2 separate regions of the Homo sapiens genome follow, and region 2 is linked to region 1. The links are contacts of gene promoters, found by promoter capture Hi-C in blood cells and fetal thymus (Javierre and others, 2016). All regions are on one chromosome and are shown on one strand. Each heading gives the region's core, a stretch centred on a gene start or on the middle of the fragment in contact. The rest is flanking DNA. Distances are from core to core; before and after follow the strand shown. Region 1 holds the start of HTR1B (5-hydroxytryptamine receptor 1B). Region 2 has its middle 70 kb from the start of LINC02540.

Region 1 (2,700 bases), core at 150-2,649:
GAGTGAAAAACACAAATTTCTAAAACTAGATGAAAAAATAGTTTTTATTGTATCAAGAGTTAAGGACGGCAAAGTACAAAATGCAAACATTGGGCCCTCTACAGCGATATTACTGGTGCCTCCTAACCTGGGTGTGGCCATCAGGGCTGGATATGATTTTAGAGCGGAGAGGTCAGAGACCAGGGCTTCCCCGCCTAACACTGGCCTCCTAGGGTGGGAGTGGTAGGCAGGAGCCTAGGGCCAGACTGCTGGACTAAACCTGTGACCATGGCTAAGGACATGGGTCTCACTGGAGGTCAGCGCAGCAAGCTCTGATGTCCGTAGAGGCGAGAACAGGACGCCTTCTTCCCCTGACCAGAAATGCAGCTCCAGGTTGTCAGGGCTGGGAGGATGGCCCAGGGTGGGAAGCGGGGAGATAGGGCGGTAGGACCCGGCGGGAGCTTCCTTGGCCAGGAAAGGAACAGGGCGGGGGGAAAAGAGGGAGGGAGAGAGAAAAAGGGAAGGTGATGGGGAGCGGGCGTCCGCACCCGCCGCGCCGCACGAGTTGCACTGCTCTGGCGGACCGGACCTGGACTCTATATAAAGAGCCCATCTGCTCCGTAGCTCGCACGCTTCTCCCGGGCTGGTGCACGCCGCGTCCCTCCAGCTCCCCCAGACACCTGCCCCTTCCCAGTGTGCCGCGCCAGGTCCTCCAGACCCGCGCACCCAGTGGCATGGCTCCGAGTGGCTCCCGTGGGACCAGGGTGGCGGTGGCGGCGGCGCGGCCCGAGCAGCCGCAACTCCAGCCCCCGTGTCCCCCCTTTTATGGCTCCGTCTCCGCGGGGCAGCTCGTCCGAGTGGCCAGAGAGTGAAAAGAGAGGGAGGGCAGAGCTCCGGCGCGAGGCGCGGCGCAGCGCTGCTCCTAGACTTCACCCCACCCAGCTCTGGCGGCCGCTGCAGCCCCCCAAAAGTGCCCCAGCTTGGGGCGAGGGGTGGGAATGCAAGATCTCGGGACCTCTCGCTGGCCTGCAAGCTTTGGTCTCTACACCTAGGAAACTCCTGTGGGCAAAGTCTGCAGATCCAAAAGCGTCCAGGTTAGGAGACGCTCAGCCTCAAGCAACTGGGGTAAGAGATCCCATTTGGTCAAAGCCTTCTCCTCAAGCAGTACTTCACCCTCCTGCACTAGACGCCTCCAGGGAGCTGGAGCGGAGCAGGGCTCGGTGGGCCAGCTCTTAGCAACCCAGGTCTAAGACCCGGTGTGGAGAGGAACAACCACAGACGCGGCGGCTTAGCTAGGCGCTCTGGAAGTGCAGGGGAGGCGCCCGCCTGCCTTGGCTGCCGCACCCATGACCTCTAGTTTCAGCTGTGAACCTGGGCGGAGGAATAATTGAGGAACTCACGGAACTATCAACTGGGGACAAACCTGCGATCGCCACGGTCCTTCCGCCCTCTCCTTCGTCCGCTCCATGCCCAAGAGCTGCGCTCCGGAGCTGGGGCGAGGAGAGCCATGGAGGAACCGGGTGCTCAGTGCGCTCCACCGCCGCCCGCGGGCTCCGAGACCTGGGTTCCTCAAGCCAACTTATCCTCTGCTCCCTCCCAAAACTGCAGCGCCAAGGACTACATTTACCAGGACTCCATCTCCCTACCCTGGAAAGTACTGCTGGTTATGCTATTGGCGCTCATCACCTTGGCCACCACGCTCTCCAATGCCTTTGTGATTGCCACAGTGTACCGGACCCGGAAACTGCACACCCCGGCTAACTACCTGATCGCCTCTCTGGCGGTCACCGACCTGCTTGTGTCCATCCTGGTGATGCCCATCAGCACCATGTACACTGTCACCGGCCGCTGGACACTGGGCCAGGTGGTCTGTGACTTCTGGCTGTCGTCGGACATCACTTGTTGCACTGCCTCCATCCTGCACCTCTGTGTCATCGCCCTGGACCGCTACTGGGCCATCACGGACGCCGTGGAGTACTCAGCTAAAAGGACTCCCAAGAGGGCGGCGGTCATGATCGCGCTGGTGTGGGTCTTCTCCATCTCTATCTCGCTGCCGCCCTTCTTCTGGCGTCAGGCTAAGGCCGAAGAGGAGGTGTCGGAATGCGTGGTGAACACCGACCACATCCTCTACACGGTCTACTCCACGGTGGGTGCTTTCTACTTCCCCACCCTGCTCCTCATCGCCCTCTATGGCCGCATCTACGTAGAAGCCCGCTCCCGGATTTTGAAACAGACGCCCAACAGGACCGGCAAGCGCTTGACCCGAGCCCAGCTGATAACCGACTCCCCCGGGTCCACGTCCTCGGTCACCTCTATTAACTCGCGGGTTCCCGACGTGCCCAGCGAATCCGGATCTCCTGTGTATGTGAACCAAGTCAAAGTGCGAGTCTCCGACGCCCTGCTGGAAAAGAAGAAACTCATGGCCGCTAGGGAGCGCAAAGCCACCAAGACCCTAGGGATCATTTTGGGAGCCTTTATTGTGTGTTGGCTACCCTTCTTCATCATCTCCCTAGTGATGCCTATCTGCAAAGATGCCTGCTGGTTCCACCTAGCCATCTTTGACTTCTTCACATGGCTGGGCTATCTCAACTCCCTCATCAACCCCATAATCTATACCATGTCCAATGAGGACTTTAAACAAGCATTCCATAAACTGATACGTTTTAAGTGCACAAGTTGACTTGCCGTTTGCAGTGGGGTCGCCTAAGCGACCTTTGGGGA
Region 2 (2,700 bases), core at 32-2,531, 800 kb after region 1:
GAAAAAGGAAAAAAAAGGAGTAATTACTCCTTGTTGATTATTTTACAGATGGTGTAACCATCGCTGGTCTGACTTTATGCAGAGGTTCTCTTGTTAAACTTCTGACATAGCAGGACCTAGGCTTTGTCTTTTGACTCTATAGTCCTATGCAGCCATATAAATGAAGCTCATGGAACAAACCATGGATAAATGGAGTTCCCTAGAACAGTCAGGGACTTGAATCTTGCTCACCCAACTCTAGATTAATGATCTTCACTATATGCTTCCCTTTTGAGGATTTATTTGACTTCTTTCTGAATCAGCAATGCAGTTATAGATGTATTTATAGATGATTTTCATAAGTGGGTAGGGAAGATAATGTGCCAAAGCACTGCCAAGGAAATTCCTGATGGGCTTGTTTAACAAAAAATTCATAAGCATAAAGCTTGCCGCTCGCTCGAGCTCTCTGTGTGTGTGTGTGTGTGTGTGTGTGTGTGTGACATTTCCCACTTGCAATTTTTTAAATAGGAAGAAAAGAGTTTAATTTAATTGAACCTATTTGGTGAAATAAATGAAATATCACTTGCTAAATACATACATATAATAAAAAACAATATACAGAATACTTTTTAAACAAAATTTACATTTAGATTAAAATAAATTATACAAAATTGATTTTCTTCAAAAATAGCAATATTTTCTATAATATTTCTAGATAAAATAAAAAACACTTATTTTTGTAGTTTTCCAGCTTTTGCTTATAAATCAAGATGAGGCAGAAGATATAGTCATGGAAAAAGACAGAAGAAAACAGACAAGTCAGTTGTCAGTATTCACGGCCTCTGATTCTGCCTTGACCATAAATGAAAGTGTTATACATACACCTGCTAAAAAGCATATGAAGATGTAGGTTCAACAAAGAAATATAAACAGTAACAACCAAATGTGGAACAACAACGGCAGGCTTTTCCATTCAACTTTAACTGTAACTTGTTCCCTTAAGTTCATTTACTAAAGATAAAACCTGCACTAAAATCCTTGTTTCTTGATCTCACAAGCTTCTCACTCTGGTAATTCTTTAACTGTCAATTACAGATTTTTAACAACATACCTGAAATCCTTATTAGTCAAAGGTCAATTATGAGGTTTATTGTAACATATTATAAGATGTAATCCTTACTCCCACACTTCCCCAAAATATATTTCTTCAAAGAATTGATAACTCAATATCCAAGAATCAAATCCAAAATGATAATAAATGTTATACCCAAAATGACTTAACTAGAACAATTCCAGAGTGCCAGTAGCAGAGATAATGCAGACATAAAACAGGGTGTTTTCAATGCTAGCTTCTGGAAGAAAAAAATAGGTCCTCAAAGCATCAGATTTCAAGCAGGAGCCATTTAAATAGTAAGATTATCAGTAATTAATGTATTCAATGGGAGGCCTATCAGCAGAGATAGTCAGTGATTGAGTGACCTGCATACAACTTACAGCTTTTCTTCCAAATATCAAATGTAAGATAAAGCCCGTTTAGAGAAGCTTTTCAGTATTTGTAATGATTTCTGAATTATCTGTGGGGAATTCTGACTTAATTGGATAATGTTTGATATATGTGTCCACCATTAAATCCAGATCATGCTTTAGATCAAAATTTATGTTAAGCAAAGCCAAGTTACTCAATCTTTGGTCTGTCAAAGGGTTCCTCAAGTATGTTTTGAGATGCTTTTGTCCATTTTCATTTTATGTTGATAAAAATTCTCAACTTTTATCACAGGAAGGATACACAGGACCTTCAGCAATGCATACACATTAGTAAAAAACTTGATTTAGTCAAGTGGAGAGTTTCATAAATGGTGGATGGAAGCTCTACACTCTTCCCTCTGTCTTTCCATTTGATTCCCCAACAATGCAGTTTGGCTGAGAGCACACTGGGATGGGGTAAGTCACTTCTATACATGCCAGTATAGTGTTCCTCTAATGTGTAAAATTTGAGCTGACCTATGACTGAGGGTACCAGAGATAAGCACTTAAGAGCTTTGAGGTGCTGTTCTGAAAATCTGTCTTTAAGTTCCTGAATAATGTGCTCCACTGTTGAACACAGGTTTTCTTTATAAAAACTCTCATAGGGTAGTTGGAATTTCAGGTTACCTTGCTGAGCTCTGTGGAATTTCCCAGGGAATTTCATTTGAACATCAAGTTGGATTGTCATATTGTGGCTTCCTCAAACCAAAACTCATTATAAACTTCAATTTTTTCTGTCACTTTACTGAGTGACTGCAGTATTGCAGTCAAGCTACTGGCTGCAGACAAGACCTCAGAGGTTTGCCCCTAGAGATTTTTCCAAAAGTCTCTTGTAAAAAAAAAAAAAAAAAAAAAAAAATAGGACATTTTAAAGAACAACAATGGTAACAATTAAATCAAAATCTGTTACTGTACTTCAGGGTACAAATGCTTGGGCAGCTATACGATTATTGCATCTGATATTTGTGTCACTATTTGTACCATGCCAACATAAAATAAGTGCTTTCACAAGGTCCACTAAAATTTCAAAAGCATCCTGCCCTCTTGTCCATGGAGAATGGCAAATTTCCTTCAGTTCTTTACCCCTTTCTTCACTCTTCAGGAAAAGAAAAAAAATAACATTTTCATGTTCTAAAAGCAGTTGTGGTAACTGATTGATAGAAAAAAAGAACAGGCTGGGCGCAGTGGCTCACGCCT

The links. The method cuts DNA at HindIII sites, captures the fragments that hold promoters and counts their contacts. A CHiCAGO score of 5 or more calls a contact.
Region 2: a fragment that was not itself captured here is called in contact with the fragment with the promoter of HTR1B in region 1 in 1 of 17 cell types (endothelial precursors); the score reaches 5.2 in endothelial precursors.

What each region holds. Positions count from the first base shown.
Region 1 is chr6:77,462,190-77,464,889 of GRCh38, reverse strand. HTR1B (5-hydroxytryptamine receptor 1B) reads left to right here and starts at 1,399. Exons shown (of 1, transcript NM_000863.3): 1 at 1,399-2,700. The coding sequence starts at 1,487. The coding sequence ends at 2,659. The region is part of intron 5 of LOC105377864; the gene reads right to left. RefSeq lists a silencer at 2,389-2,533. The HindIII fragment of the contact is 3,027 bases long and covers 1,015-2,700 here.
Region 2 is chr6:76,661,928-76,664,627 of GRCh38, reverse strand. It overlaps the pseudogene LOC100131680. Among named protein-coding and RNA genes, the nearest start is that of LINC02540, 70 kb to the right of the region's middle. The HindIII fragment of the contact is 484 bases long and covers 1,040-1,523 here.